7 separate regions of the Homo sapiens genome follow, and all the other regions are linked to region 1. Evidence: promoter capture Hi-C in 16 types of primary human blood cells and fetal thymus (Javierre and others, 2016). All regions are on one chromosome and are shown on one strand. The core of a region is centred on a gene start or on the middle of the fragment in contact, and the rest is flanking DNA. Distances in the headings are between cores, read along the strand shown. Region 1 holds the start of SIGLEC14 (sialic acid binding Ig like lectin 14). Region 2 overlaps LINC01872 (long intergenic non-protein coding RNA 1872). Region 3 holds the start of IGLON5 (IgLON family member 5). Region 4 overlaps LOC107985327 (a long non-coding RNA gene). Region 5 overlaps LOC101928517 (a long non-coding RNA gene). Region 6 overlaps SIGLECL1 (SIGLEC family like 1). Region 7 has its middle 18 kb from the start of IGLON5.

The links. The method cuts DNA at HindIII sites, captures the fragments that hold promoters and counts their contacts. A CHiCAGO score of 5 or more calls a contact.
Region 2: a contact is called between a fragment that was not itself captured here and the fragment with the promoter of SIGLEC14 in region 1, in 5 of 17 cell types (megakaryocytes, erythroblasts, endothelial precursors and 2 more). The highest score is 8.8, in megakaryocytes.
Region 3: the fragment with the promoter of IGLON5 here is called in contact with the fragment with the promoter of SIGLEC14 in region 1 in 11 of 17 cell types (activated CD4 T cells, erythroblasts, naive CD4 T cells and 8 more); the score reaches 14.6 in activated CD4 T cells.
Region 4: a fragment that was not itself captured here is called in contact with the fragment with the promoter of SIGLEC14 in region 1 in 1 of 17 cell types (megakaryocytes); the score reaches 5.1 in megakaryocytes.
Region 5: a contact is called between a fragment that was not itself captured here and the fragment with the promoter of SIGLEC14 in region 1, in 3 of 17 cell types (megakaryocytes, erythroblasts and neutrophils). The highest score is 6.1, in megakaryocytes.
Region 6: a contact is called between a fragment that was not itself captured here and the fragment with the promoter of SIGLEC14 in region 1, in 4 of 17 cell types (erythroblasts, megakaryocytes, M2 macrophages and 1 more). The highest score is 8.8, in erythroblasts.
Region 7: a fragment that was not itself captured here is called in contact with the fragment with the promoter of SIGLEC14 in region 1 in 3 of 17 cell types (erythroblasts, megakaryocytes and endothelial precursors); the score reaches 10.2 in erythroblasts.

What each region holds. Positions count from the first base shown.
Region 1 is chr19:51,645,181-51,648,074 of GRCh38, forward strand. SIGLEC14 (sialic acid binding Ig like lectin 14) reads right to left here and starts at 1,645. Exons shown (of 7, transcript NM_001098612.3): 1 at 1,543-1,645; 2 at 1,077-1,460; 3 at 602-880; 4 at 297-350. The coding sequence starts at 1,579. The HindIII fragment of the contact is 8,795 bases long and covers 1-2,894 here.
Region 2 is chr19:51,274,206-51,276,905 of GRCh38, forward strand. The region is part of intron 1 of LINC01872 (long intergenic non-protein coding RNA 1872); the gene reads left to right. Among named protein-coding and RNA genes, the nearest start is that of LINC01872, 4.3 kb to the left of the region's middle. The HindIII fragment of the contact is 644 bases long and covers 1,023-1,666 here.
Region 3 is chr19:51,310,111-51,313,035 of GRCh38, forward strand. IGLON5 (IgLON family member 5) reads left to right here and starts at 1,534. Exons shown (of 8, transcript NM_001101372.3): 1 at 1,534-1,816. The coding sequence starts at 1,738. The HindIII fragment of the contact is 5,776 bases long and covers 1-2,925 here.
Region 4 is chr19:51,203,835-51,206,534 of GRCh38, forward strand. The region is part of intron 2 of LOC107985327 (a long non-coding RNA gene); the gene reads right to left. Among named protein-coding and RNA genes, the nearest start is that of MIR8074, 1.8 kb to the right of the region's middle. The HindIII fragment of the contact is 1,887 bases long and covers 369-2,255 here.
Region 5 is chr19:51,172,438-51,175,137 of GRCh38, forward strand. The region is part of intron 1 of LOC101928517 (a long non-coding RNA gene); the gene reads right to left. It also overlaps the pseudogene SIGLEC17P. Among named protein-coding and RNA genes, the nearest start is that of SIGLEC7, 31 kb to the left of the region's middle. The HindIII fragment of the contact is 5,922 bases long and covers 1-2,700 here.
Region 6 is chr19:51,257,312-51,260,221 of GRCh38, forward strand. The region is part of intron 1 of SIGLECL1 (SIGLEC family like 1); the gene reads left to right. The region is part of intron 2 of LOC107985327 (a long non-coding RNA gene); the gene reads right to left. Among named protein-coding and RNA genes, the nearest start is that of SIGLECL1, 7.7 kb to the left of the region's middle. The HindIII fragment of the contact is 1,490 bases long and covers 691-2,180 here.
Region 7 is chr19:51,291,725-51,294,615 of GRCh38, forward strand. No RefSeq gene overlaps it. Among named protein-coding and RNA genes, the nearest start is that of IGLON5, 18 kb to the right of the region's middle. RefSeq lists enhancers at 746-1,424, 1,425-2,103, 2,782-2,891. The HindIII fragment of the contact is 441 bases long and covers 1,421-1,861 here.

The DNA of each region.
Region 1 (2,894 bases), core at 395-2,894:
TTTAACACTGCTGAACTGTACTCTTTAAAATGGCTAAGATGACAAATTTTGTGCTATGTGTATTTTCTCACAATGAAAAAATAAATCTGAAAAAGAGAGCAGAGAAAAGGGAGAAGCCAAAAGAAATACTAGGTCTGTTCGTGCAAGATCTTAGTGACTGGGATTGGGGGGTTGGGAGCAGGAAGGACCCAGACCCAGGGGCTGAGGGGTGAGGGAGGGTCTCCTCTCCCAATGCTGAACCCTGAGCTAATAGAAGGCTCCCATCACAGCCCCAGAGGGAAGAGGGTCTTTCCTACCTGTGCCTGTGCCATTTCTGAAGAAGATGCTGATGGCGAGGTTCTGTGGAGCATCTGGGATAGAAAGATACAGCACCAGCTTCAGAGGTGACAAGAGGGATGGGCGTGGTCCCGGGAGGGACCCAAGGAGGGGCCACAGAAACCCACCAGGTGGGGACCGCTGTCCTTCCTGCCCACACACGAGTTTTCCCTGGTTATCATTCTCTTTCTCTCTCTCTCTTCTACACACACACACACACACACACACACACCCCCCTCACTCCCACTGCCCTTGGGGACTCAGCTGTGTCCCCAGCACCACTCACAGGAGACATTGAGCTGGACAGTTCTCTCCGTGGTCACCTGAGCTCCTTGGCGTTTCACCTGACAGGTGAGGTTGGTGCCATGGTCCTCGGGCCTGGGGGTGAGGGTGAGCTCCGAGGAGCGGGTGGTCTCGGGGTCCAGGGGGCTGAGGGCATTCCCCGTCCAGGAGAATGTGAGAGGTGGTCCCGCTTCACAGGATCCTGGAAGGCTGCAGCTCAGCCTTGTGGGGCGGCCGGACTCCAGAGGCTCCAGAAAGTGGATGTCGGGTTTCTCTATCAGGGCTGAGGAGGAGACAGGGAGATACCTGGGCCCCAGGGGCTTGAGGACGTAAGGTGTGACCCCGAGAGTGGCCAGGCCTCAGGCCCCGACCTGCCCCAAGTCCTACACCTCCTCCAGCCGCCCCTGCCCAACTCCTGTCCCTGTTCTCATACGGGGGTCTCCACGTCCCAGGGTCCTCTCCTAGGGTTCCTGCCATACCTGTCACCTCCAAGTTCAGCTTATTCTGTTGGTAGCTATATTTTACATCCCTTCCTCTCTCCACGCGGAAGAAATAGCTTCCCGTGTCCTCCATTCTGGCATCTCCGATGCTCAGGGAGCAGTTCTTCTTCTGGACATCCCCAAGGAGGCGGAATCGGCCCTGGGTCTCTGGCTTCACTCTTCTGTCTGGGTTGTTTGTGGCCACAACCTCAGCGTAGTATGGGATCTCCCCGTCCCGGAACCAGTAGACGTAGAGTGGGGGAGAGGAATACCAGGATCTCCAGGGGTAAGAGAAGGAGCAGGGCACAAGGACGCACAGGCCCTCCTGCACCGTCACCGACTTCTGCACTTGCAGCTCGTACACTGGCTTCTCCTGCAGGGACCCTGGGGGGACACAGAAGCTCAGCTGCAGCTCCAGCCCCCCTTCTCACCCCTGTGCCTGTCCCTCCTCCCTCAGCTCACTCACCCCCCCACAGCAGGGGCAGCAGCAGCAGGGGCAGCATGTCTCCATCCGCCAGGGCCCCAGCCCAGTCCCAGGTCCGGCTGTCAGGGAAGGAAATGCTCCAAATGTCCAAACGTGGGGTGGGGCTGAGAAAGCCCCGACAGGAAGCCGGAGGGTGAGTGAGAGCTGTGGACGCGCACAGAAGGGGAACTTGGGCATCACGTGCTGTTGGGGTGAGGCTGGGGCTGGGAAGCCATTCTGCTCCCACCCCCACTGGACGCCGATGGTGAAGATACTGAGGCCCCCAGAGGGGCTTGTCCAGACTTGTAAGTCTAGACTCCTGAGGTCACCAGGTCCCATAGCTGCAGCACTTTCCTTATGCACCTTTGTCTACATAGGAAGGAGAACACCACTTGGCCAGCTCCCTGGGAGTCAGGGCCTCGGGACCCTCAGCGAGATGGGAGAATAAATCCTTTATGACATGATAGGAGCTGTGGTGAGGGAAGCACACGCTGGGGGTTTCAGGTGGGGAAGACTTTCCTCTTTCCAGAGGGAAGGCAAGTTGTCAGGGACAAACACATCAGGTGGACATGACCGGGTCCTTAGCAGTCAAGAGAGATGTGGTCCCCACCACCAGTTGGATTTGGGAACCTCATCTCATCCTTGTCCTTGTCCCAGGCAGCGTCAGACCCCATCCCTGATGTTGACAGCCAGATGAGGCTTGAGAGCCGGGCATTTGAAATGTGAACGTTGAGGATATGGAATACCAAGTGTGAACCCAGACCCCTCACCTACCGGCTGTTGAACTTTACAAAAGTTACCTACCCTCTCTGTGCCTCAGTTTGCTCAGCTGAAAAATGCAGACAATAATAGAATTGCTGTGTGGGGATTCAGTGAGGTCTCATGTGTAAAGTGCTTAGGACAGTGTCTGGCCCCGAGAATTCACTCATTCAACTGATGCTTCATGGGCGCCTATGGTGCACCAGGCCCCCTGTTTTAGGAGCTGGAGATACAGCAAAGGATAAACTCTTAGGATGAGAAGGTAAGTCAAAAATCCTAGTGGGGGCTCCTCTGGGCACACTGCTTATGCATACCCCTGCTCCACGAAGAACAGTAAAAAAAGAAGGCCGGGCGCAGTGGCTCACGCCTGTAATCCCAGCACTTTGGGAGACCGAGGCGGGTGGATCACGAGGTCAGGAGATCAAGACCGTCCTGGCTAACATGGTGAAACCCCGTCTCTACTAAAAATACAAAAAATTAGCCGGGCGTGGTGGCGGGCGCCTGTAGTCCCAGCTACTGGGGGGGCTGAGGCAGGAGGACGGCGTAACCCGGGAGGTGGAGCTTGCAGTGAGCCGAGATCGCACCACTGCACTCCA
Region 2 (2,700 bases), core at 95-2,594, 370 kb before region 1:
TGCAGGATGATCTCCTCAATTTAAGATCAGCAGATTAGTCACCTTCACTCTATCAGCAAAGTCCCTTCACTCAGTCAGCAAAGTCCCTTCACTGAAGCACGTAGATTAATGTTTAATTGAATAACCAGGGCACAGGAATCTTGGAATGGGAGACATCTTTAGAATTTTGCCTACCACACAAGTCGAGGGGGAAGACATTTGTAACTCATATGGTGCAAAACTATATGCTTTTCCCACTGTCTTTCTCAAACCTTGTGAGGTGGACAGGACAGTTTGATTTATTCCCATATTTTATACATGAAGCATGGGACTCAGAGAGGAGAAGAGGCTTCAACCGTGATGACACAGCAGTTCTGAAGGCAGCCTGGCATACCGGAAAGAACACTGGGTTCGGAGTCCAGGGACCTACATTATGACTTCAGGATGTCCATTTCTTGGCCCTGTGAACCTGACTAGTTCCTATGCTGTTCTGGGCCTCAGTTTCCTTATCTGCGAAGTGATGCATTGAGAACTACATCACAGTGCTGTTGTGAGATTGAGAATGATAAAGTATGTGAATCTCCAGTGCACAGCACATGGGCCACCATGATTGTTCGGTATTATTTATTTATTTATTTTAAGGTATCTGCAGAGCCACAGCTAGAACCCAGATTTATTTATTTATTTATTTATCTCTCTCTCTTTCTCTCCCTTTCTCTCTCTCTCTCTCTGTCTGTCTCCCAGGCTGGAATGCAGTGGCACAATCTCTGCTCACTGCAGCCTCTGCCTCCTGGGTTCAAGTGATTCTCATAACTCAGCCTCCTGAGCAGTTGGGACTACAGGCGCATGCCACCACGCCTGGCTAATTTTTGCTTTTTAAGTAGAGAAGGGATTTTGCCATGTTGGCTAGGCTGGTCTCGAACTCCTGGCCTCAAGTGAGCTGCCCGCCTTGGCCTCCCAAAGTGCTGGGATTACAGGTGTGAGTCCCCGCGCCTTGCCAAAACCCCAAATTTCTTGGTTCCAAATCTTCTTTCATTTGATAAAGCTTTATTATGCACCAGCTGTGTTCCAGATTGTGTGTTGGGTACTAGAGACACAAAAGTGACTCAGACTTGACTTTGAAAGGTGGACTCCATTATGTCACATAAAGGTACCTTGGGCATGACACACAAAGGCCACCCAGAAGTGGTACACAAAGGTGATTCCAACATGACACACAAAAGATATTTGGACATGACTAATTTTCTCAAGGAACTCACATTCTGGTCAGAATAGATACAGAGTTACTTCCCTGCGTACTGTGAAGGGGCAGAAGCTGACCAAGGAGAGAAAGAGAAACAGAGGGGAAGTAGGGTTAGGTAGTATTTCTAGCAGTCTGCCAAAATCTGTCAAATTTTGGAGTTTATTTTGACAGTAAAGTGAAGCCAACAGATGGTAACGAACAGGGAACTGACATGATTGATTTATAATTTAAAAGGATGCCATGCAGATGTGGAAATGTGAAGGGGCAATGGTGGAAATATCACTGGAACAATGGAGTAATGGAAATTCCACTGTCCTTCCTCAGCTGCAGAGCCCCCTGCAGAGTCTCCTTGTCATCTTCCTCCAAAAGTTTTCTAGGAGTCCCCAAGGAGTCTCCTATGTCTTCACAAACAGGCCCCATTCATCTGGTACCTGCAAGCATGGAAGCTTTACTTTTTTTTTATGGTGGGGATGGAGTCTTGCTCTGTCACCCAGGCTGGAGCGCAGTGGCGCGATCTTGGCTCACTGCAACCTCTGCCTCCCCAGTTCAAGCAATTCTCCCACCTCAGCCTCCCGAGTAACTGGGACTACAGGCATGTGCCATCACACCTGGCTAATTTTTGTACTTTTAGTAGAGATGGGGTTTCTCCATGTTGCCCAGGCTGGCCTCAAACTCCTAGGCTCCAGCAATCTGCCCGTCTCGGCCTCCCAAAATGCTGGGATTCCAGGCGTGAGCCACCACGCCTGGCCTAGGAGTTCACTTTTGGCTAGATTCCCTGGTAAGGCATTTTATCAGTTTCCCAACTAGCGTGACAATCAAATGGAGAAGAGATATGGCAGTGGGCTGTGTGGGGTTGTTACAATAGCTCCACAGGGTCATCAGAAAACCAGGCTCCCCATGTTGTTGTCAGTGACATCCCCAGATCTCTAGCTTTCATTCTCACAGTTGTCTCATAGTCGCCAGGTGGCTGCACCATCTCCAGCATCACGTTCATCTTCCAGGAAGTAAGAAGAGGAAGGTGAGGAGGAGGAAATGATGGTGCTAGTGTCAGAAAAGCAGAACTCCCAAAACTCTCCAGCAGATAGCCTCTTAAGTTTGGTATTTTTAAGTAGACAAGTCTCTCAAAATGTGCGCTCAGTAATCTAGTGGAGTTAAAGATTTCTTTTATTTATTTATTTATTTATTTATTTATTTATTTATTTATTTATTTTTGAGATGGAGTTTCACTCTTGTTGCCCAGGCTGGAGTGCAATGGTGCAATCTCAGCTCACTGCAACCTCCGCCTCCCGGGTTCAAGCGATTCTTCTGCCTCAGCCTCCCCAGTAGCTGGGATTACAGGCGCGCCTGCCACTACACCCTCTATATATATATTTGTATTTTTAGTAGAGACGGGGTTTCACCAGGCTGATCTCAAACTCCTGACCTCAGGTGATCCACCTGCCTCAGCCTTCCAAAGTGCTGGGATTACGGGCATGAGC
Region 3 (2,925 bases), core at 284-2,783, 340 kb before region 1:
TGCAGGGGAAGACGCTGAGGTTCTGGGAAGAGAAATGGCTTGTCCAAGGTCACACAGCCAAGTCAGTGAAAGAACAGGGAGCCAGGATGTTTTGCACCTAAACCCTGGATTATGGTTTCCTCCCCACCTGCTCCCCCAAGATAAGTCCCCCAATCCCTTCCCATTGCCTTATTATACTGGGGATGAGGGTTGGGGTGGAGGAAAAAAGCAAATTTCACTCCAAAAGTCAGTGTTTTCGTTATCCATGAAAATAGATGGAAAAGCTGAACTGTGGCCCACAGGAAGAGGGGCCTGGGGGCCTGGCCTCCTGGGTCTGAGGGAGGAGGGGGCTGGGGGCCTGGACTCCTGGGTCTGAGGGAGGAGGGGCTGGGGGCCTGGACTCCTGGGTCTGAGGGAGGAGGGGCTGGGGGCCTGGACTCCAGGGTCTGAGGGAGGAGGGGCTGGGGGCCTGGACTCCAGGGTCTGAGGGAGGAGGGACTGGGGACCTGGACTCCTGGGTCTGAGGGAGGAGGGGCTGGGGGCCTGGACTCCTAGGTCTGAGGGAGGAGGAACTGGGGACCTGGACTCCTGGGCCTGAGGGAGGAGGGGCTGGGGACCTGGACTCCTGGCTCTGAGGGAGGAGGGGCTGGGGGCCTGGACTCCAGGGTCTGAGGGAGGAGGAGCTGGGGGCCTGGACTCCTGGGTCTGAGGGAGGAGGGGCTGGGGGCCTGGACTCCTGGGTCTGAGGGACGAGGGGCTGGGGGCCTGGGCTCCAGGGTCTGAGGGAGGAGGGGCTGGGGGCCTGGACTCCTGGGTCTGAGGGAGGAGGGGCTGGGGGCCTGGACTCCTGGGTCTGAGGGAGGAGGGGCTGGGGGCCTGGGCTCCAGGGTCTGAGGGAGGAGGGGCTGGGGGCCTGGACTCCTGGGTCTGAGGGAGGAGGGGCTGGGGGCCTGGACTCCTGGGTCTGAGGGAGGAGGGGCTGGGGGCCTGGGCTCCAGGGTCTGAGGGAGGAGGGGCTGGGGGCCTGGACTCCTGGGTCTGAGGGAGGAGGGGCTGGGGGCCTGGGCTCCAGGGTCTGAGAGAGGAGGGGCTGGGCCTGGACTCCTGGGTCTGAGGGAGGAGGGGCTGGGGGCCTGGACTCCTGGGCTGAGGGAGGAGGGGCTGGGGGCCTGGACTCCTGGGTCTGAGGGAGGAGGGGCTGGGGGCCTGGACTCCTGGGTCTGAGGGAGGAGGGGCTGGGGGCCTGGACTCCAGGGTCTGAGGGAGGAGGGGCTGGGGACCTGGGCTCCTGGGTCTGAGAGAGGAGGGACTGGGGCTAGTCTCCTAGGTCCATGGGAGGATGAGATTGGGACTTGAAGGAGGAGGGAGCTGGGTTTTAGGAAGTATCCCAGACTCCGTGTTCTGCGGATGTGGTGGAAAGACGTGGGGACGCCTGGGGCGGGAGGGGTAGGGGCCGGGCCGCAGTAACAAAGGCCTCTCCCTCCAACAAGCAACCCCCCCTTGACCCCGCCTCCCCGGCCCCCCACCTCTCCTGATTGGCCGGTCTCCCTGCCCGTCAGCGCCGCCCCCCTCCCCGGGTCTGCAGCAGCTCCAGCCGCCTCGTCGCGCCCCCCCAGCCCCCTCCCCCCGCCCCCGCCGCCCCCCGGGCCGGTGCAGCGCAGGCGGGGTCCCCCTCCCCCTCCCCCCTCTCCCCCCAGGCCTCGCGCGCCCCGGACCGGCCCCCCCTTTCCCCTCCCCCTCCGCGCCGCCTCTGCCGCGATGCCCCCCCCTGCGCCCGGGGCCCGGCTCCGGCTTCTCGCCGCCGCCGCCCTGGCCGGCTTGGCCGTCATCAGCCGAGGTACCGCAGCGCCGGGGGCGGGGGGCTCGGCCGGGACGCCAGGGTCTTGGGTGGGTAATCGGGGGATCAGGGGTGGGGGTCGAGGGCTGCATCCCTGGGCCGGCGCGGGGAGGCCCCGGGACGCCGGGGTCTGGGCCCGGGGGTGGGGTCTGCATTCCCTGGCTGGGCAGGGGGACCTCGGACGTGGGGGTCCGCGCCCCGGGGCAGGGGTCGGCGTCCTCGGGCCGGAGCCGGGTCTAGGGGCGGAGGTCTGCTTCCCCGAGCAGGCAAGAGGGTCGCAGACACCTAGCCCTGCCTGGGGGCAGGAGTCTGCGGCTCCTGTTGAGGAGGGGGCAGACACTGGACTCGGGGTCCCCGGGTCGGATCTCCGAACTGAGTTGGGGTGGGGGGCAGGGGATAATGCCCTGTTAGGGGTCTTCATCTGTACGTGGAGAGGGTCCCTGAAGAGGTCCTTGCCGGGGGCTGGGGTAGTCATCTCGGGACAGAGGTCAGGGGATGGATGCCTTCCCAGGGTCAGTAAGAGGAGGGGACAAGGGTGTCCACAGACCTAGTCCCAGGGTCAGGAAAAGAGGGGAAGGGTCTGAAATCCCCCAGCAGGGTCATCTAGGTTGAGAGAAAGTGTTGGTACTTGGGGAGGTTGCAGTTATGTGGGGGAGAAGGGAGCTGGAGATACAGGAAGTTGGGGTGCTGGGCTGGGGTCTTGGATTCCCAAGCTCTGATTGAATGTCTAGGTTCGTGGGGCTGGACAGTGGAAGAGCGATGGGCATGGGAGGATGAAGGAAAGACGGAAGGGAAGGGTTAAAGCAGGTTGAAGGGTTAACCCCGGCCCGGCCCGGCCCTCCCAGTTGGGGAGAGGGCCAGGGGCAGGTTTCTGCACTGAGGTTAGATAGCTGGACCTTGAGTCTCCCCAGTAGGGCCTGGCAGGCAGGGGGTGGTCAAGGAGATTCCTAGATTTCCCCCTAAGAAAAGGGAGGAGAGTGCAAGGAGGCAGGAGGCTGGAGGGTGGGCGCTCAGGAGGGCAGGGAGCTGGGTTAATTCAGACTTTCTGGAGGATTCCCCCAGGCCCTCCCCTGAACAAAGAGTTCCAGGGACAACCAAGAACCCCGACA
Region 4 (2,700 bases), core at 62-2,561, 440 kb before region 1:
GAAGACCTGAATCAACTGAAAAACACCCTGTGTTCATGGATTGGTAGAATTAATATTAAGATGGTAATATTCCTCAAATCAAGATTCAGTGCAATCCCTATCAAAACCCTAATGGATGTTTTTACTGACATGAAAAAAAAACTATCCTTAAAATTCATATGGAATCACAAGAGACTTCAAATAGCCAAAATGATTTTGAAAGTGAAAACATTGTAGGACTCACATTTCCTGATTTTACAACTTACCACAAAGTCACAGGAATTAAACTGGGTAGGCACTTGGTTTCTCAAGCCGCCTGCTTGGCCCTCTTCCAAGTGTACTTTCCTTCCTTCCTTTCTTTCCTTTCCTTGCTTTCCTTACTCTTCTAAAGCTTTTAAATAAACTTTCGCTGCCATAAAATAAAATAAAAAACTAGGTGGTACCGATACTGATCAATGGAATAGAATTGAGAGCCAGATATAAAGTGATAAATTTATGGTCCACTGATAATTCAGTAAGGATACCAAGACCATTTAATGAAAAACGATAATGTCTTTAACAAATGGTTCTGGGGCAACTGGAGAGCCACGTGAATAAAAATGAAGTTGGACTCCTTCCACATAAAGTATGCAGTATAGGCCGAGCGCAGTGGCTCATACCTGTAATCCCAACACTTTGGGAGGCTGCGGCGGGTGGATCACTTGAGCTCAGGAATTTGTGACCAGGATGGGCAACACAGCAAAACCCTACCTCTAAAAAAATCACAAAAAATTAGCCAGGCATGGTGGCATGCACCAGTAGTCTCAGCTACTCAAGAGGCTGAGGTGGGAGGATCACTTGGGCCCAGGAGGTCAAGGCTGCAGTGAGCTGTGTTCATTCCACTGCACTCCAGCCTGGGTGACAAAGTGAGATCCTGTCCCCACCAGAAAAAGAAAAAAAGAAAATACACAGTATAGTAATTAACTCAAAAAGGACCAAAGACTGAGGTGTAAGAACTAAAATTATGAAACTCTTAGGAGAAAACATACAAGTATATCTTCATGGCCTTAGATTTGGAAGGTGTTTCTTAGATATGTCACCAAAAACACAAGCAACATGAGAAGAAATAGATGAATTGGACTTAAAATTTAAAATTCTTATGCATCGAAGGATATTATCAAGAAAGTAAAAAGAATGGGACCAAATATTTGCAAATAATATATCTAATGAGCCTAGTATCCCCAAAGAAGATTCGCTACTCAACCACAAAGAGACAAAAATCCCAACTTTAAAATGGACAAAGGTCATGAATAGACATTTATCCAAAGAAGGTATAGAAACGACCAACAAACACACAAAAAGATGCTCAACATTATTGTCACTATGGCAATGGAAAGCAAAACTCTACAACGATTAAGATGGCTGTAATTAGTAAAACGGAACATAACACGTGTCGGTGAGGATGTGGAGAAATTGGAATTCTCATACACTGTATTTGGGAATGTAAAAGGATTCAGCCGCTGTGGAAAAGAGTCTGCAAGTTCCTCAATAGGTTAAACATAGAGTTATTGATATGGTTTATCTATGTCCCTGTCCAAACTCATGTTAAATTGTAATCCCCAATGTTGGAGGTGGGGCCTGGTGGGAGGTGATTGGATCGTGGAGGTGGAATTTTCATAGTTCAGCACCATCTCCTTGGTGCTGTTAAGACAGTGAGTAAGTTCTCATGAGATCTGGTTGTTTAAAAGTGTGTAGCACCTCCTTCCTCACTCTCTTTCTCATGCTCCCGCCATGTGAGACTCCTCCCTCGTGCTTCACTTTATGCCATGATTGGAAACTTCCTGAGGCCTCCCCGGAAGCAGAAGTCGCCATGCTTCCCTTACAGCCTGCAGAACTGTGAGCCAATTAAACCTATTTTCCTCACAAATTACCTAGTCTCAGGTATTTCTTTATAGCAATGCAAGAACAGACTAATACAGTTATCATATTGACTAGCAATTTCACTCCTTGGGATATACCCAAAGGAATTGGAAACAGATATTCAAATGAAAATCTGTACATAAATTTTCATGGCAGCACTACTACTCACATGAGCCAAAAAGTACAAACAACTAAAATGCCCAGTAACTGACAAATGGATAAATGGAATGTGGTCTTTCCATGCAATGGGATATCACTCAGTCCAAAAAAAGAAATGAAATAATGATGCATGCTACAACAAGGATTATCCTCGTAAACATGGATTTACCTTGAAAACATTACCCTTGGTAAAAGAAGCCAGACATGGAAACTCATCAAGCTTAGTAGGCCATTTAGAGAAAACCCACAGGTAACATTACACTCAATGATGAAAGACTGAAATTATTCCATTCACATTAAATATCCAGCATAGATAAATCCATGGAAATAGGTACACGTTAGTAGTTTCCAGGGGCTCTGGGAAGCAGGCAATAGAAAGTGACTGTTTCCCTTTCAGGGTGATAAAAATGTTCAGAAACTAGATGGTGGTGATGATTACACAGCACTGTGAATGCAATAAATGCCACTGAATTTTATACTTTTTCTTTTTTTTGAGACAGAGTTTCACTCTGTCACCCAGGCTAGAGTAGAACGGTGCGATCTCAGCTCACTGCAACCTCCGCCTCCTGGATTCAAGCAATTCTCATGCCTCCATCTCCTGAGTAGCTGAGATTACAGGCACCCACCACTATGCCCAGCTAGTTTTTTGTATTTTTAGTAGAG
Region 5 (2,700 bases), core at 55-2,554, 470 kb before region 1:
ACAGGAAGTTGAGTTGGCTGCCCTTTGCTCCCTTCATGTGGCCACACTTACAGGTCCTTGTCTCTTCACTCAATGTCAGTTTCCACAAGAAGAAGGCGGTGAGGGCAGTGGAGGTTGAGGAGAATGTATATGCTGTCATGGGTTAATCTCTCAGGTGAGTGATGTGGGCCTCTCACTCTTCAACATCCTGCTGGATAACTCCTCCACAATGGCCTCCAGGATTGCTCTGCCCATCATGGCCAAAGTTAAGCCAACTGTCTTCCTCCTCAAACCTACTTTTCCTGGGATGTGGGTTCTTCATCCTGCAGATGACAAAGAGGCCTCATCTCTAAAGTCAGAACCTGGGTGTGGGTCTCCATCTTGACCCCCCTCCCTTCTCTAGATCCCATAAATTACTAGCTCTTGTCCCTCCTTCTCCTAAGCAGGGCTCATCTTGATGCCCTTTTCTCCATCCTGACCCTGGTCATTCTTGCGGCCTCACCTCTTCCCTGATCACTGAACCCTTTTCACCTCCTGCCTCCATCTCTCCCCAACACAGGCCTCCAGACTGTACTTCCAGATGTCTCCTCATCCAGTTCCTCCACAGTCTGAATGGCCATGTTTCCTCTTCATTGCTGGAGAATGAAGTGCAAATGCCACTGCCTGGACTGAAGGCCTTTCACGATCTGTCTTCTGCTGGACTCTGCTCCTGATCCCCCTTCTCCTTGCATCACCCGAAGTCTCCCTACACCCACCAGGCCAAGCCCTCTGTGATTCTGAGACTTTGCATGTGTAGTTACTTCTCCTGAAATGGCCTTCCTCCCCATTCCTGCCAATCCAGGTCCTTATCATCCTTCAGGTTGTCTTAAATGTCATCCAGGTGTGTGTATTTTTATGTAATCCTTGTATGATATTAAGCGGAGATGTGGCATTTGTTCATTAATTTGTAGACATATTCAGTAACCATACTGAATACATATAATGACTATGTGCCAGCATTTCCGTATGTGCAAGAAGTTCATCAATAGATATAGACTCAAAGAGCTCTGTCATCAAGCTGTTGTTCTGAAGAGCAGAAGGATACAAATAAAAAGAAATAAGTAAAATATTTTTTCCCATGTTGGATAGAGATATTTGTTTAGAGAAAAATAACACAGGGAAATAAGCACAGACTATACTGGGAAACAGTTTCTATATCTGATAGTGGAAAGAGGTGACATTTAGGCAAAGACGTGAAGGTGCTGAAGAGGCGGGCTCTGAGTCTGAATAAGAGAAAAGCATCCCAGGAAAAGGATAAGGGGAAGAGCAAGTGCACTGCTCAGAGGCAGCAGCAGGCCTGGGGGTTGTGGGCTCAACCAGAGCCCCATGTCTTAGAGCAGAGGAAGGGTAAGGAGGGAGCAGCAGGAAGGAAGCTGCAGACTGCGTGGGGTGCTGCAGCGCGCACAGGAGCCTGGAGCCTTTGGGAAGGGCAGAGACACAACTGGACTCTCACTCTGACCTCAAATGCCTGAGTCAGAGCAGGCCCAAGTGGGTCATGGCAGCCACAGGAAGACGGGGAAGGCACTGCTGGGTCCTCCAGGAGGAGGGATGAGGGCTGAGCCAGCGAGGCAGGGTGGGGTGAGGACATGTTTTTGGATGTGTGTGGAAGATCAAGCTAATAAGGATCACAGGCTAACTATGTGTTCAGTGAGGGGAAGGCAATACAAAGGACGAGGCCGGAATGTTCCCCTGGGCACCTGGAAGGAAGGAGCTTTGTCCATAGAGGACTGAAGAGGGAAGGACTTTCCTAGAGAATGATTAATTCTGAGAATCCACCTGACATCAGAATGGGACTAGGAGGGAGACAGCCGGATGTAACTGTCAGGAGCTCAAGAGAGGGGTCCAGATTGGAGATGTTACAATGCACATTCAACAACTTGGTTCAGTTTCCAAAAATATTACTGCTGAGATGAAAGAATACAGACACAAATGAGTACATTTCTAGGAAATTCTCATGTGGACAAAAGTAACTCACCATGAGAGAGAGCATATCAATGGTTACCCAGCACAGGAGGTGAGAATGGTGAGCTGCAAAGAGGCTTAGAAAAAGCAGAGTCATGTGGGATATGAGAACTGAGCACAGGTGGGTAGGAAATGTAGGAAATGAAGTTGGAGAGAGATGGAGGCTACAAATATTGCAGTGTCCTGAGTCCATTATACTTATTTATGCATTTGAGCAAAAGAGTGAGATGAAATGACACTTACTTTAGTGGGGTCACTCAGGCTGCAGTGTGAGAAAGTATAGATGAGAGGAGACCAGATTAGTGGATACAGAGAATCCAGTGAAGAGATGACGCAGACATAGTCCTGGGTAAGGATGATGAATCTCATGTGGAGAAGTTGGGTTCTGGACACATCTTGAAGATGAAGCCAATAGTATTTGCGAATGGAGTGACGGAGTGCACGTAGGGTAAGAGCAAAGATAGCTCGTGGCCTCTGCTTGATAGGTGCCACAGATATCACAGGTGAGTCCACAGATATCATAGATGTCATGGATATCCATGAAGACATCCATGACCTCAATAATATCATGGAGAGTCTGATTACACCTCCATAGATGTCACAGATGCCCACAGGTGCCAAAGATGATGCCCATGTGGTTACCCAGAATGGAGACTTAAATAATTTAACTGCCAACAACTAAAATTGCCAACCCTGCAGGAGGAGAATATTCTTAAGTGT
Region 6 (2,910 bases), core at 186-2,685, 390 kb before region 1:
GGGAAGATTGCTTGAGCCTGGGAGGTCAAGCCTGCAGTGAACTGTGAATGCTCCGTTGCACTCCATCCAGTCTGGGTGACAGAGCAAGAAACTGTCTCAAAAAAAAAAAAAAGAAAAGAAAAGAAAGAAAACACTACCCCTGGTATACTCCCTTCCCCAAACACATCTCCCACTCTCAAACATAGAGATCGCTGCTATTCTGAATTTGACATTTTATTCTGTGTACTAAGGAACTTAACCTTGCCTGAAGAGAAGTCTGGCCTTTGCCCTTGGCTTCTGGAAGACACTCCCTAGCTCTTAGAATGTCACACCTCATAGGGGTGTCTTTGTTTGCCCAGGGACCTTGCATCACACTGAATATTCTAGAAATGTGATTTAGGATGAGGGCTGGCCACACCAGATAATGTTAACAATGTGATTTAGAGTGGAAGCAATACCAGATAGTCTAACAATGTGATTTAGAATAGGGGCTTTGGATCAAATGGTATCAGCTCAACTTCAGGAGGAGCTGGATGCTAAGATCCACCATGAGGGAAGTCACCATGTTACACGATGGAGGCCCAATAAAAACACTGGACACAAGGCTTGGGTGAGCTTCTTTAGTTGACAGTACTATGCATATTGTCACACATTATCACCAGGAAAGCTAAGTTATGCTGTCCATGACTCCACAGGGAGAGGATAACTAGAAGCTTTGTGTGGGGAACTTCTGGCCTCTGCCCTGTATGTCTTCCCTTGGCTGATTTTAATCTCTATCCTTTAGTTGTAGTAAACAGTAATCACGAGTATAACAGCTTTCAGTGAATTCTGTGAGTACTTCTAGTGAATTACCAAACCTAAGGGTAGTTTTGGGGTTCCAAAACCTTGCAAATGATTTGAGAAATGAGGGTAATCAGGGATCCTTGATATCTTCAGTTGGTGTCAGAAATGAGGGGATCTTGTGGACCATTCCCTAACTTTTCAGTTGTATCAGAAATGGGATTCACTAGAACAGCCCTGACTCACTGAAACATATGGTTTGAAAAGAGGAAGGATGTGAAGTCAAGATGATAAGCCTTTGATTCCTGGGCTGTCCTGCGGTCACCTGTGCGTATAGAAATGCAGCTGTTCTGCAAACAGTTACAGGAGGTAAAAGTTACCATTGCTTTTTCAATACAATGGATCCAACCCCCAAGGAGCTGACCCACTGGATGCATAAGGAAACAAACTAAATAGGCAGTCCCTTGGCTATTTTTATCTGTAATCGTTAAAATGAAAGTGGCTGAGGCGGATCCTGATGCTGGCCCAATCTTGGGCTCTGGCCAGCCTGAGCTACAGCTGCTAGCCTCAGGGCTGTGGCTAAAGGGAAAAGTTAGGCTGAAATGACAGATGGCAAAGAAAATTAGAGTGGTTCACCAGAGAGTGAGAAAAGACGAACATTTCCAAGAGGGTGGAAATCTTTATAAACAGTTATTAAGAAATGAGATGAGTTAAGTGGACATTGAGGGAGTCTAAACAAAGGTCTCAGTGGAGCACTCTTAGAAATTAGGTGGAGCAGTGAGAACCTAGACTTGCCCTCCAGTGTTGAAGGTCCCCCATCAAGTCTGCTATATTTACCCTAGTTTGGAGGAATTTTAGAAGCCAGAAGGCAAACATGACAATGGGAAATCTGACCTCAGATCTCCTGAGGGGACGAACATGTGATCTAATCAAGATAAATGACAAAAGGGCCTGGGTTGCTTGGCCTGACCCCTAACTGAAGACCCAAAGTCATATGCATATTAGTAGTAAAATAGTCAGGGGATGGATAAGAGATATTTCTGGGACTCATGTGGGAGTCTTATACCTGCATTCCAAAAGGTTGGTGAAATTCTAATAGCATCTATGGTTAGATTGCGAAGACATAGGATTACAAAGTGGATGAGATTCAGGCGAAACTTTGGATGAAAATTGGAATGTTTGGACAGACTATGTAAATATGTTATGTGAATGTATTTACCTAAATGTATTATGAGGAAAGATATTGTGTCCAACTATGGAAGAGTTCCCCTACGTACTATTATGAAACAGAAGGCATGTAAATCTTCCCTTCAACCAATATTGATTGAATATGCTAAATAGGAACCAATAAGATTGCCCAAGCCCACACTAATTGTTAATTTGAAACAGTACAGGATATCTGGTGGACAAAACATGTTAGAAGCTTAACGTTTGCTTTATTTAGGCAGACTGGAGCTAAGGCCAGTGAGCACCACCCAGTGGTGAATGCTGGGATTTGGGGCCAGAAAATTTCCAATGGAGAGACAACTAGCTGCCTATTGGGCTTTGAGTCTGCCCCATCATTGAAGGATATAATAATCCTGACACCTGAAATCCTCATGATGTGTTTGTCATGTTGGAAAAACACTGTAGTAAGGAAGGCCATGCCCAAAAGAGTCTCGTAATAAAATGGAAATTGTTTATACAGGAACATGCTACCAGGGAAATGCAAGGAGGTCCTCGTTATATTTATGAACAGGTGGCTTTTTCCCTACTGAAGAGCTGCGAGATCCTATTATTACTTGAATGATGTCTATTAATAGCTCTTGATTGACCAACTAAGAGCGGTTTGATTTATGGATGGCAATTCCAAAGTGAATTAATAACATCCTGTTTGGAAGACTGGCACTCATACTGAGGAAGGCAAAAACAAGTCACTTCAGTGGGCTGAACTGCCTCCACATTTGGGTTTTTACCAATTCATGGGCAGTGGCCAATGGCCTGGCCATATGGTCAGGCAGATGGGCAATGGGAAACTGTACTATTAAAAGGATGCCTATATAGGGTACAGCCTTATGGAATTCACTATAGCCAGTATCTCAAAAGACCTGTTCATACCCCCTACAAATGATAAAATAAACAGAGAAACAGACCTCTTCCTCCCAAAAAGGC
Region 7 (2,891 bases), core at 391-2,890, 350 kb before region 1:
AGGAAGGGGATGTTCTGGCCCAATAGCCAGAGGCTCAAAGTAGCAGAAGGAGACTCTTTCTTCAGAGGATGAGGGTTCTAAAACAGAAGGGTAACTTCCTGACGTTGCCATGGCATCTGTAACCTGTCATGGTGCTGGTGGGGGTGTAGCAGTGAGGACGACCAGAGGTCACTCTTGTCGCCATCTTGGTTTTGGTGGGTTTTGGCCAGCTTCTTTACTGCAAGCTGTTTTATCAGCAAGGTCTTTATGACCTGTATTTTGTGCCGACCTCCTATCTCATCCTGTGACTTAGAATGCCTTCACTGTCCAGGAATGCAGCCCAGTAGGTCTCAGCCTTATTTTACCCAGCCCCTGTTCAAGATGGAGTTACTCTGGTTCAAATACCTCTGACAATATCGTAGAGCAAACCAGGCCTCAGGGAGGTGGACACTGAACGAGGACATATGCAGATGTGTAGGGACAAATGTTGGGAAGTGCCTGGAGGAAAACGGGGAGCTGGGAGAGAGTGTGGCAAGGGGACGGGGCGGGGAGCAGCCTTCAGGTACTTGCTCTGAGGCCTAAAGGAGTGTGGGGAGCTGCCCAGACTGAGGGAGCCGCAGTTCTAGGCTCTGAGATTGCAAAGGTTTATCGAGTTCAAGAGCCCAGCAGGGCCAGATGAGCTCAGAGCTTAAGGAGAGCTTGGGAGAGGCTAACCTGCTGGCAGAGCCTCAAGGGCTCTGGTGAGAAGTTTGGGTTTCATCTTCCCTCGTGGAGGGCTATTGCCTCTCATGCTTGGTCATCCTGGAAGGTGAGCTGCTCTCAGTGGGGACTTTACCTGCAAGAAGCATATGCGGACAATGTGGTGGGCAAGTCCCCCTGAAATGAGTTTTGTGTGAGTTGCCCAACAGCGAAACACACCGGGGGCTATTTGTGTTCATTGCTCACTTTGTCGCTCTCTGATGCAAATCTCTATAAATGGAGGCCTCAGCTTCTAAGATAAATACAAAAAGGTTTTTTTTTGCCACCGAAAGCCCAGGCCAAAATAGACATGCTTCCTTGTCATTCCCTTGATCAATGACTAGATTTTTTTTCTGGCGCCCCCCTTGATGTGGGGGTGTCATATCCAGGTTGCTACCTAGTATGGACCCAAGGCCTTGTTGTCTGCTGTCACTGGACCATTTAAAGCAAGTCCCTTGGTAATCATAACAGCAAGCCCCCGCTTCCCCACAACCCAGCAGTGTGCAGCCAACCCTCAGTTGATGCGTGGCCTCTGATCTTCAGTCCCCAACGTCCTTACGACCTCAGCCCCATCAGTATTTTCGGATGTTTTTGTAGAGCAAGTGTTTTCAGACAGGAAATGGACGTTTGAATCTTATTGTCTGAACGCAGAAAGAAACAATGGAAGGATCTCCATTTGGGGAGGAACAGGTCGGGTCTTTAAAGCTTGCTCAGGCTGCTCTGCAGGGGACACGGGACAGAAGGACACAGCCGCCAGCCAGGGACCAGCAGGTGGCCCCTGCAGCTGCCAGAGCAAGAAAGGAAAGGGAACAGTTATATAATCCATGGGACAGCCATACAACAGAACAACACAGCTGTCAGAAAGAGCAAGGCGATGTGCCGGGCATGGACATGCAGACATGAGCCAGCAATATTCGAAGGAGGAAGAAAGGTGCAAAAAAAAAGACCTGTCCAAAACTGAAAAGTATATATGGAGACATCGCAGAGCAGCAAGAGAAGCAGGAATGGACCAGACACGAAGGGCCACCAGGCTGAAGGGCTGGGCTGTGTCCTGGGGGGACTGGGAAGCCATGGGAGGGCTGTGAGCAGGAGAGGAGCCGGGCAGCTCTGGGGGACAGAGTGAATTCCAGGAGGCCCAGAAAGAAGCTTGGGAGAGGGTCCACGCCAAGACAATAGAGGTTCTTATCCCCATTTGACGGCGTGGGGTGGGGCTGTGCTGGTCTCAGAACCAGGAAGCGGAGGAAGCTGGTGTTCTGGGCCCAGCCCAGGGCTCCTTCTGGGAACTGGACGGGGCAGGGACTGAGCACAGCATTCACCACGGGGCTTCCTGCCTTAGAATGAAGATGCTTACCTGGTGGGAGGAGCATCAGAGTCCCAAGGCCAAAGAAGGCTTGCCCCTTAAGAAACCAGAGCTGCTGGAGGAAACAGAAGTACCCAAAATGCCTGAAGCTGACACCCCACCAGACCGGGCTGGAGGTAAGTCCCTGGGACAGTCACAGGCAGACTGTCAAGCAACAGGGCCGCAGGCCAGGGCCCCCACCCCATCACCTGGCAGAACCCCGGGGAGGCACTTGTTCAGGACGGAGAGACCCAGGCCCCCTCGCCCCACACAGCAGATGCTACATTTGCCAAAACAAAGCCCCACAGACTGGGCGGCTTGAACGGCAGATACTGATTTTCTCCCCCTCTGGAGGCTGGAAATCCCAGGTCAAGGTGCCAGCAGCAGAGCTTCCTTCTGAGGCCTCTCACCTTGGCCGGTAGATGCTGTCTTCTCCCTGTGTCCTCACAGGGTCATCCCTCTGCGTGTGCCTGGGTCCTAATTTCCTTCCCTTGTAAGGACACCAGTCATTGAATTCAGGCCCATCATGTGACATCACTTAACCTTAATCACCGATGTTAAGACCTTGTCTCCAATACAGTCACATTCTGAGTCACTGGGGGTTAGGATGTCAACATATGAATGATGGGGGGTGGGGTGGATCCACACTTCCGCTCATAACAGAGGCTTAAGGAGGCTGCTTGGATTCCCCCGTGTTGGGTACTTAGAGAGGGGATTGGGCTTGTCTAAGGCAGCGGAGCAACCGACTGTGGTTCTCCCAAAGTCTAGGGCTCTGGAGAGAAAGAAGAGTGTAGACTCCGAGATGGATCACGGCATGCGGCCCAGGACGTGGAAA